Regions from separate parts of the Homo sapiens genome. Here regions 1 and 3 are each linked to region 2. The links are contacts of gene promoters, found by promoter capture Hi-C in blood cells and fetal thymus (Javierre and others, 2016). All regions are on one chromosome and are shown on one strand. The core of a region is centred on a gene start or on the middle of the fragment in contact, and the rest is flanking DNA. Distances in the headings are between cores, read along the strand shown.

Region 1 (3,804 bases), core at 209-2,708, 1.2 Mb before region 2:
AGCCTGATCTGTAAACTGTGAGGCCAACAAGAGGATCAACCTGAATTACTCCAGCAGGTGGTGGTATGGGATGTAGAGGTAGGGGTGAGGTTAGCTGCATCCTGCCTTTGGCTGAGAGGCTCACTCACACTTCTGTCACCTTTTGTGTAAAGAATAGCAGCAGGATCCAGCATTCTCCATTCTCTTCTCCAGTCAGAAACATTGAATTGCCAAATATATTTTCCTGAAAATCTCTCTCTCTCGTCTCTCTCTCTCTTCATCTCTTTTGAGACTGGCTCTAGCTATATAACCCAGGCTGGTCACAAACTTCTGGCCTCAAGCAATCCTCCCACCTCAGCCTCCTGAGTACCTGAGTAGCTGGAATTACAACCACAAGCCACCATGCCTGACTAAAAACCTCTTTTTGTCTTGATATTCCTCTAATCAGAAATCTGCATTGGCACTTTAGTTCCTACCAGATAAAATAGAAATCTGGAGGTCTGGTGTTTCAAGACTGGTCTCAATCTACATTTCCAAACTTATATTCCATTCCTCTCCCTTTTGGAGGTCTTCTCCTGGCCCGAGCTGTCCTGGTTACTCTTTCCATAATTGTTTTCAACTTCCTTACCTTAACCCCTTTCTGGAATGTCTTCTTTCTCACCCAGGTTGAAATTTTACTCTTCAGTCAAAGCCCCACTCCCTTCCTGTGCCTTGGTGGAAGAGTTTTCTCCACTGCTGCTGGTCTGTAATGGCCTCTCCTGCCTCTGAGGTGCTATTAAGACTGACTGCCTATGTTACTTTTGGCCTTGACTATAACTAGTAACTATAGCTTTGAAAACAGGATGATATTGGATTATTATTTATTTTCCCCTCAGGGTATATAGTTCAGCACCTTGTACAAAATATGCATTCAACAAACAGAAGTCAATTTATTGAATATTAGATGTTATTTATTAGTTACTTAGAAATATAACCTCATATAAATGTCAAGAGTATGGGGGTTTGAATGGTAATTCTTCTACATCAAAGCATGGCATAGTAGGTACTGTGAAATGCACCCTGCTCTCCCCCATTGAATATGTATGCACACACACACACACACACACATACAAACACACACACACACACACACACACACACACAAGCTTATCTTTGGAGTTCAGGTGAGAGCATCTTAACCTCAGAAAACGTTATCAGGCTTGTATTAGTCAAGAGTAACTCCTAAAAGTAGCTTGAACAAAGTAGCTTTAAAAAACAGGAGCGTATTAGCCTCTGTGATGGGCAATTCAAGAGATGGATTTTTTAGGCAGAGCTAGATTGAGGGGTTCCAGTGTGCCCCAGCTCTGCTTTAATCCATGTTGATTTAATTCTCAGGCAAATTCTTTCCACGCGATGATGGAATAACTCCAAGTTCAAGTCCTTACAATGGGAGATCCCAGAGAACAGAGAGCATCTCTTTCCAATACCATAGAGACCTGCTCTATGAGTGACCACTGCTTTCTTATTGATGATGTCCCTGGAACTATTCTGCTACATCCATGTATTACAGGGGACACCCCGTGGCAATCCTAATCCCTAGTTAATCCCCACTTTCCTAATCCTACTTCAGAAGCAGCCTCCAATCCAGAACCGATGTTCAGTTCCTGGATCCTGCTCAAAATCCTTCAGTGAAACACACACTGTACAGAAGACGTTTCCTGCTCCTTCTTGTTGAGTGGTCTGCCACAGTGCTTCTGCCATGTGCTCCCTCACTGAAAATCAATACATCTGATTTTGTCAGATTATACATTGTGCCCAGTGGTCTTTGGCTAATTAAGCTTTAACAGGGAAAGAGGAGAAATGAGCTGCTATATATTGCTTTTACCCTAAATTAGTCCCTAGAGGATGTTTTCTGATCATATTTTTTTCCTGTGTCCTTGACTTCCTTAAGCAGCGCCTGTTCATTTTCACTGGAAATGTTCCAAATGGATCAGAATAATTTTGACATTGTGTCACCAGGGACATCCTCCTTTTAATATCTAGCATCACACAAAAACAAACATTGCATTAGTCCTGAAAGAGTTCTGACTCTACATAATTAATTTTCAACACAAAACTAATATAAATAGGAATGTGGAAAAAATAGGTATTAAAGGTAAAATGGAGGCTGGGCACAGTGGATCATGTCTGTAATCCCAACACTTTGGGAGGCTGAGGCAGGAAGATCACTCGGGCCCATGAGTTCAAGACCAGCCTGAGCAACATGGTGAGACCTCATTTCTACAAAAACATACAAAAATTAGCCAGATGTGGTGTGTGTGCCTGTACTCCCAACTAATCAGGAGGCTGAGGTGGGAGGATCACATGAGCCTGGGACGTTGAGGCTGCAGTGAGCCATGATGTGGGTTTGAATGGTAATTCTTCTACATTAAAGCATGGCATGGTAGGTACTGTGAAATGCACCCTGCTCTCCGCCATTGAATATGTATGCACACACACACAGCCTGGGTGGTAGAGCAAGACCTTATCTCAAAAAAAAAATTTAAAGATAAGATGGAAATGGAAATATGACAGATCAAGATAGTGACTGCTTGTAGCCCAATGTAAACTTATCTGTTTGAATTTCTTCTCTTTAGAAGCTTATTTCTATACCATTAAGTTCATGTTATCTGTGCTGCTTAACAAACCTATTTGCCAACTTCAAATAACTATTTCACCAACCTCGTGGATTCTTTGGGTCAAGAATTCAGAAAGGATACAGTGGGGATGGCTTATCTCCTTTTGGTATATCTGGGACCTCAGCTGACAATGACACAAACACTGGGAGTGATGATGGCTGGGAGCAAATGTCAGCTGGAGGTTTTGTCTTTCACATGTCTGGCAGTCGATGCTTGCTGTGTGCTGGGACATCAGTTGTAGCTGTAGGCCAGAACACCTACCTAGGACCCATTCAGGGGGATTGTACTTCCCGCTAGTATCATGGCCTCAGAATTTTCTTACATGGCAGATCAGAGCACCAAAGGCCAGTGTCTCAAAAGGACCACTTGGGAAGAGTGTTGCCTTTGATACTTAGCCTGCAGTACAGCATCACTTCCACTGTGCTCTAGTGGGCTACCAGTCACATGCCTTCCCACATTTGAGGGGAAGGTACATGGGCCCTACCTGTCCATGGAGGAAGTGCCAAAGAATTTATGAACATGTTTTAAAACTGTCACAAATAATGATTCCTCCCCCTGTCTCTTTCTCTCTTTCCTTTTCCCTTTCTCTCTCTCTGTCTTTATATGTATCCAGTGATATCTATCATGTATTTATGTAGTGGTATACATTCAGGGATTCTTTCTGGAACTCATTTCTTGCTCTCAAGACATACCATACGTATTTTCAGTAATTTTACATTTGGAGTAAACTCAATTCAACTTAATTGGATTCAACTAAAGCTGAAATTTACTGAGAAAAGTATTCTGTGAAAGGGTTGAGTTCAATCCATAGTAACTTTAACTGGGGATTGAAAAATAGAAGTTTTGTCCTGTAGGGCAATCTGAGTACAGTCGTCCTTCGGTATGTGAGGAATTTGTTCTATGTCACCTACCTCACCCCACCTTGGATGCCAAATACTTAAAATTATCTCTAGATTACTTATGATACCTAATACAATGTAAATGCTGTGTAAATAGTTGTTATACTGTATTTTTATTGTGATATTGTGAATTTTTTTTTCTAATGTGTTCAATCTGAGGTTGGTTGAATCCCCAGATGTGGAACCTGAGGATATGAGTGTAATGGCATGGCTTCCATTGTGAGCCACTGCAATGCATTTTTGTTTGAGTTTTGGGGTGGAGGCTAGGG
Region 2 (3,580 bases), core at 610-3,109:
ACACAATGATCCAGTGGGCCAGAGGAGCCCAGAGCCATGAGCGGCCCATCCCTCCAAGAACTATTTCTGACTGTCCAGTATCATGGAGCAAGTGGAAAGAAGAAAAAAAAAACCCAATTACTTTTCGAAGAGCAAGATGAATGCTGTAGAAGGAGAAGGAAGGGGAGGGAGATGGATGGGTGCCGATTCCAGAATCTTCAGATCTGCTTGGATGAATCATTACCTATGATTTGCGGGACAAGAATCTGATTTTATTCATCAACCAGTAGAAACTTTTCTTTCTGCCTCCCAACATCTGAAATCCAACAAACATGTGCCTTAGGAACATACCGGTCATCTTTTAGAGGCATTTTATATACATATTGAGTAACTAGAAAACACTCTTTCCGTAATACACACACACACACACACACACACACACCATCTTGTCATACAACACTCCCACGCAAGAAAAGCGAAACTGCTGTTTGATGAATGTAAACACTTGGCTGTTTGCAGCAGTCGGGAGTCCTGCCAGGTTTAAGTGCTAAGATGGGAGGTGAACCCCAGGGGTTTCCCCCTGCCCGTGCTGAGATCCTTATTTGGTCAAGCTTCTACCTATGCCCTGGCCTCGGAGCGAGCCCGATAGCGCTGGATCACAGCAGAGGGAGCGAGGCGGCTGACGTCCCATCCCGAAGAGATGAATGGAATTCCAGGAAGCTAGAGTCATGCTGGCTTGGGACAGTGGCTTGGAGACCAGACTTCAATGACAGAAGCACTAGGCAGCGGCACTCATGGCAATGTGTGCACCCACAGAAATGTAACCCACACCTCGGGTTCAGGAGCCGAAAAATGAAAAGAACGTTTAGGGAGGAAAAAGGGAAATACAATAATAGGCAGAGAGTAATTTATTACTCTATGGGTCTGCTCTGTAAATAGCTGAAGACTCTGGAGCCAGATGGTTCTGCAAATTCTCCAAACAGGAGTCACGTTAAGAAGCACGAGTGGGCACAAAAACTGTTTTTCAAGACACAATTTCAATTTGGCTTGTGGAAACTGGATACGAGTAAGTTTCCTTAAAATTCGAGTAGAAAGCAGCTGTCCTCCCCGGGCCCCTTGATGAGAATACGCACACCGCCCCCAAGCGGCCGGCCGAGGGAGCGCCGCGGCAGCGGGAGAGGCGTCTCTGTGGGCCCCCTGGCAGCCGCGGCAGGAAAGGGCCCGAAGGCAGCGAAGGCGAACGCGGCGCACCAACCTGCCGGCCCCGCCGACGCCGCGCTCACCTCCCTCCGGGGCGGGCGTGGGGCCAGCTCAGGACAGGCGCTCGGGGGACGCGTGTCCTCACCCCACGGGGACGGTGGAGGAGAGTCAGCGAGGGCCCGAGGGGCAGGTACTTTAACGAATGGCTCTCTTGGTGTCCCCTGCGCCCCGTCGGCCCATTTTTCTTTTTACAAAACGGGCCCAGTCTCTAGTATCCACCTCTCGCCATCAACCAGGCATTCCGGGAGATCAGCTCGCCCGAAAGCCCCTGCGCCACCCCGCGGGCCCTCCTAGGTGGTCTCCCCAGCCCCGTCCCTTTTCGGGATGCTTGCTGATCACCCCGAGCCCGCGTGGCGCAAGAGTACGAGCGCCGAGCCCGTGCGCGCCAAGGCTGCGTGGGCGGGCACCGACTTTTCTGAGAAGTTCTAGTGCTCCCAAGCCCCGACCCCCGCCCCCTTCACTTTCTAGCTGGAAAGTTGCGCGCCAGGCAGCGGGGGGCGGAGAGAGGAGCCCAGACTGGCCCCCACCTCCCGCTTCCTGCCCGGCCGCCGCCCATTGGCCGGAGGAATCCCCAGGAATGCGAGCGCCCCTTTAAAAGCGCGCGGCTCCTCCGCCTTGCCAGCCGCTGCGCCCGAGCTGGCCTGCGAGTTCAGGGCTCCTGTCGCTCTCCAGGAGCAACCTCTACTCCGGACGCACAGGCATTCCCCGCGCCCCTCCAGCCCTCGCCGCCCTCGCCACCGCTCCCGGCCGCCGCGCTCCGGTACACACAGGTAAGTCGCCCCCGGCGGCCGCCGAGGACCAAAGCTGCCCGGGACATCCACCTGGAGCGCTGAGGCTTCAGTCCCTCTGGTGGACCCCGGAACCTACACTCTCCCCGCTCGCCTACCCCAGCCCGCTCCTCTCAGCCGCTGGAGGACTCTTCAGGGCAAGGCTCCAGAGCCATCCTCTCCAGCCTTGAGGTTCACAAACCAACTCATCAGGACACCCCAAGATTTCCTTACTCTCTGAAGTCCTCCTTAAGCCTTTGTATCAGCACTCCAGGGAAGAGTCTGTACTTCCCCTGCCCTCCCTGCAACCCCAAACTACAGTTCCTGATCTTGCTCACCTTCGACTTCCCAAAAGCCCCCAAATTGTTGGTCTTGCGCCCCCCACACTTTAAAACCAGCATCTCTTTCCTCCACCTCTCTCTCTCTCTCTCTCTCTCTCTCTCATGCTCTCTGGAAAGTAATCCTGTTGTCCTTCATTTCAGCAAACGCGGGGTCAAAGAGGGATGGTCCCGGCCCTGTCCCCATGCCCAGCCCCGTTTCTGCGCACCGTCCCTCCCTGCCTAGCTGATCTCTGACCCTCGGCTCTTGTGCTTCCTGCTACAGGATCCCTGCTGGGCACCAACAGCTCCACCATGGGGCTGGCCTGGGGACTAGGCGTCCTGTTCCTGATGCATGTGTGTGGCACCAACCGCATTCCAGGTGAGTTTGTGTGGCACCTTTAGGGGAAGGAGGGACAAGGAAGAGGTGCTGGCTATCCCAGGTGTGCCCCCTCACGTGCTGTCCTCTCCCTCTTGAGCCTGACTGGACATCAGGACGCAGCTTCACTCTGATCCTGGTATTTATTCACCTCTTTCAGTGGTTGCCAGGAGTTTTCACCCCAACCCTTTGTCTCCACCCCTAAGGACTCAGCCCCCTACTGCTGGTCCCAGCCTAGAAAGCTCACTTTGTGTTCTCTCCTGTCTAACAGAGTCTGGCGGAGACAACAGCGTGTTTGACATCTTTGAACTCACCGGGGCCGCCCGCAAGGGGTCTGGGCGCCGACTGGTGAAGGGCCCCGACCCTTCCAGCCCAGCTTTCCGCATCGAGGATGCCAACCTGATCCCCCCTGTGCCTGATGACAAGTTCCAAGACCTGGTGGATGCTGTGCGGGCAGAAAAGGGTTTCCTCCTTCTGGCATCCCTGAGGCAGATGAAGAAGACCCGGGGCACGCTGCTGGCCCTGGAGCGGAAAGACCACTCTGGCCAGGTCTTCAGCGTGGTGTCCAATGGCAAGGCGGGCACCCTGGACCTCAGCCTGACCGTCCAAGGAAAGCAGCACGTGGTGTCTGTGGAAGAAGCTCTCCTGGCAACCGGCCAGTGGAAGAGCATCACCCTGTTTGTGCAGGAAGACAGGGCCCAGCTGTACATCGACTGTGAAAAGATGGAGAATGCTGAGTTGGACGTCCCCATCCAAAGCGTCTTCACCAGAGACCTGGCCAGCATCGCCAGACTCCGCATCGCAAAGGGGGGCGTCAATGACAATTTCCAGGTGAGGCTTCTTCTCTGAGCCCTGCTCCGTGGGATCATCTGCTAGAC
Region 3 (3,873 bases), core at 1,111-3,610, 1.1 Mb before region 2:
TGGAATAGAGTTCAGATGTGTGGGAAGCACCAGCATTACTGAGCTCTGGAAACTTAAATAGAGGTTTTATCTATGTTGGGTCTCCAGTTTAACCTAACAGAATTTTAATGAGAAAAAGGAACGTAGGAATATTAGGCAAATTGTGAAGGGTATTTGCATTAAAATTGTCTTAACGTACTTTGATATTTTCAATGTTGGCATTAAGATTACAGAGAAATCCAAAATAAGTGAGTTTTGATATATTCTTTCAACATTCAGTGACATAGATTCATGGGCATGTTTGACCCCTGAACTGGACTTAAATGGGAGCTTTGAGCAAATATTCCTTTAGGAAATATCTTGATATTTTATCTTCTCATGTTGGTCTTTTTTCTTCATGTTTTAGGACAAGGAGTTTGTGTTTTTGTTTTTTTCTTATTTGGGAAGGTTTTTAAAAATATATTTTCCTTAGACTATGCATGGATCAGTTTTGGCCTTTCATTTGGTCTTTTTCAATTGATTATATGATTATATGCATTTGTATACTAAGTTTTCTTGTTGAATTTATTATATCTTTATCATTTTCTCCCTATTTTCGTGATAGAAAAATACGTCTGATATTGTTGAGTGACTGTCATCAACTTTGTTCTACAGCAGTTTAAATCTTTGCACAGTATTTTATTATATGCATATATATACTGTATTCATAGACACTGAGGTTTTCTCTAATTTTGCCTCTTTGACCCTGTAATAAAATCCTTGACAGCTAAATTTTTGTTCATGTCCATGATGTATTCCTAAAAGTGAACTATTTGATTAAGGGAAATGATTTTAAGGCTGTTGATGCATACTCCAGAGTTGCCCTTCAAACAGATTATAGTCATTTATTAGAAAGGTTATGTAGTTTCTTTTCTTCACTGTTTTACTAGTATTGAGATAATATTGTGAATGTAATTTTATAGCTTGCTTTTTCACTAAATATATTGTAACCATTTTCCAATATCTCTAAAAACTCTATTTTAGTACCCTTTTTAAAATTAACTCTTAATTTTTTTGAGATATAATTAACATAAAATTTACCATTTTATTTTTATTTTTGAGTTGTAGTCTTGTTGTTGCCCAGGCTGGAGTGCAGTGCCATCATCATAGCTCACTGCAACTCACTGGAGGGTCAAGTGATCCTCCCACTGTGGCCTTCGCTCAGGCAGCTGGGACTACAGACGTGTGCCACCACACCTGGCTAATTAAAAATTTTGTTTTATTTTTTATAGAGACAGGGTTTTGCCATGTTGCCCAGGCTGGTCTCAAACTCCTGGCCTCAAGTAATGCTCCCACTTCAGCCTCCCAAAGTGCTGAGATTACAGGAATGAGCCACTGTGCCTGGCCAAAATATACCATTTTAAAGTGTACAATTCAGTGGTTTTTAGTCTGTTCACTGTGTTGTGTAACCCTATATGTAATTCCATAACACTTCCATCATCCCAAAATGACATAGCTACCTCTCAGCAGTCATTCCCAATATTCCCTACCTCCATGCCCTGGCAACCATTACTATAATATACTTTACATTTCCATGGATTTGCCTATCTGGACATTTCATATAAATGGAATCATACAATATGTGGCTTCTGCATCTGGCTTTGATTTAGCATAATGTTTCCAAGGTTTATTCATGTCATAGCATGTAACAGTACTAAATTTCTTTCAGTATCCTTCTTATGGCTGCATTATATTTTATCATTTAGTGATTCAATAGTTTACTTCTCTTATTTTATACATTTTTTTCTATATTAACAATACCAGGCATGTTTCTGTGTTTAATTTTTATATATAAATTTCAGAGTAAAATTTTATGGTGGATTCCTTAAAGGAAATTTACTGTGTCAAAGGTTTTGTCTCTTAATGCTCTCGCTTCCCATGGCCAAATTGTTTTCCACTTAAGTTTATATGAATTTAAACTCCTTCCAGTAAGGTAAATGAAATGTTGTGTCACTTTAGCCTCTTTATTGCTAACTTGATGTTAAAAAGACTAACTTGTTTTGTCTGTTCTTATTATTGACAAAGTTGAACTGTTTTCATAAGCTTATTAGTCATTTGAATTTCCTCTTTTTAACTTCTATTTATGTCTTGTCATTTTTTTTTCCTGTAAAATTCTGTTTTCTTTTTGTGTTTGAGGTTTTTATATAGAAAGGAAGTTTGCTGGTTGAATTATTTGTTGAAAATATTTTCCCCAGTTGTCATTAGATGTTGTTTTATATCTTTTAAAGTACAGAAATTTTAATTTTTATAATGTAGTTGTTTTTAAATTGAAAATTAAACCTCAAACAGTTAACTTTTTGTTCTCTTTGGAATTCCCTTTGTTATATGGTGTGCTGTATTATTGTTATTATTACAGATAGCCACCAGGTCATTCCAGCACCATTTAAAAGATAATCCTTTCCTTTTCTCGTTGATCTGTGATGTCTCCTTTATCATTTATTGCATTCATAGATTTATGAGGCTCTGAGTCTCAATATACTATTTCATCAATCTATGTTTTTTTCTCCCAAGTTCTAGTTAATTAGATGGAGGTAGGATAGCAAACTGTTATCTATACTAGACCTGTGCTTGGGGGTCAGGTAGACCTTTGTTGCTAAGTGGGCAGAGCTAGGATTCTCTCTATATTTTGGGGAAACTAACTTAAGCTTTCTATGCCTCATTTTTTTTTTCCATCTGCAAAAGGGGATAATAAAAACCAACCACTCTAAAAGGATATTTTGAGGATTAAAGAAATAATGCCTTACTAAGTGAACAGCATCCTGGCACATTTAATAAGTTCTCATTAAATGTTAACTGATAAGATGATGATAATTTTGTATTATAGCATATTAGTATTTGGTAGGATTATATTTCAAAATGCTTTTAGTTATTCTTACATATTGAGTTTCTGGATTTAACTTTAGATTTTTTTTTCATTCTCTCAAAAACTATTTATATAGGATTATAAGTTAATTTGGGGGAAAACTGACAATAATACTTAATGTTCCCATACAGAAACTTGGTATTTCTTACCATTTATACAAGTTTTCCTTTTGTTTTTGCAAGATTTACTGATGTTTCCCTTTTAAATGTCCTGTATGTGGTTTTGGTAAAACTATTTTTTAGGTATTTTTTGTTAATATGTATAGAAATTTTTTTGTTATTATTTTTTAGCGAGTTGTTGCTGGTAGTTACATATTTTTAACACCTGTTGGTCTATTTTATTTGTTCTAAATTATTCATAAATTCTCAGATATTTGGGTGTTTTTGCTCTTTTCTAACTCCTTGCTTATGCATTATCTCCTTTTCTTTATTTCTAAAGATTATGATTGTTTTTGCTCTTTCATTAAAATGTACTTTTGTTCCTTTTTTCCTTAACTCTTGTCATTTAGGTAAAAACAGATGATATAGCAAGAATTTATCAGCCTAAGCGTTATGCTTTGTCACCCAAGACAACGATTACAATGGCACATCTACTTGCTGCTCGTGAAGATCTATCCAAGATCATTAGGACAAGTAGTGGCACCAGCCGGGAGAAGACCGCATGTGCCATTAATAAGGTTGGTGTTTCTTTCAGTACAGTGGAAAATGAATTGATGATATCTTACTTAATGTTTTTACAGATTTTAGTCTATTTTTCTTTCATGTCCTGGTAAATGTTTAGAAAAAAGAGTGGCAGGGGGGTTCAGTCTAGGCTTAGTTATGTTATTTTTGTGTATGTGTGTATGTTCACTTGAATTTGTGTATTCATAAATCAAAGTATTTTCTGAATTAGAGGAATTATGAATTGTTTTTGTCAAAGCTTTAGCAAGAATTATGTTCCATCTTTCTAAAAAGTAATCATTTTTTGTCAGTAAGAATCTTTCGGAATTGTTT

The links. The method cuts DNA at HindIII sites, captures the fragments that hold promoters and counts their contacts. A CHiCAGO score of 5 or more calls a contact.
Region 1: a fragment that was not itself captured here is called in contact with the fragment with the promoter of THBS1 in region 2 in 2 of 17 cell types (activated CD4 T cells and total CD4 T cells); the score reaches 8.3 in activated CD4 T cells.
Region 3: a fragment that was not itself captured here is called in contact with the fragment with the promoter of THBS1 in region 2 in 1 of 17 cell types (total CD8 T cells); the score reaches 6.1 in total CD8 T cells.

The regions. Positions count from the first base shown.
Region 1 is chr15:38,427,511-38,431,314 of GRCh38, forward strand. No RefSeq gene overlaps it. Among named protein-coding and RNA genes, the nearest start is that of FAM98B, 25 kb to the right of the region's middle. The HindIII fragment of the contact is 672 bases long and covers 1,123-1,794 here.
Region 2 is chr15:39,579,220-39,582,799 of GRCh38, forward strand. THBS1 (thrombospondin 1) reads left to right here and starts at 1,860. Exons shown (of 22, transcript NM_003246.4): 1 at 1,860-2,009; 2 at 2,610-2,705; 3 at 2,974-3,533. The coding sequence starts at 2,639. It overlaps LOC124903470, which reads left to right and starts at 588. Exons shown (of 1, transcript XM_047433405.1): 1 at 588-1,775. The coding sequence starts at 1,099. The coding sequence ends at 1,533. RefSeq lists an enhancer at 951-1,688 and silencers at 1,111-1,340, 1,351-1,400. The HindIII fragment of the contact is 3,699 bases long and covers 589-3,580 here.
Region 3 is chr15:38,477,903-38,481,775 of GRCh38, forward strand. It overlaps FAM98B (family with sequence similarity 98 member B), which reads left to right. Exons shown (of 8, transcript NM_173611.4): 7 at 3,390-3,557. Among named protein-coding and RNA genes, the nearest start is that of FAM98B, 26 kb to the left of the region's middle. The HindIII fragment of the contact is 602 bases long and covers 2,060-2,661 here.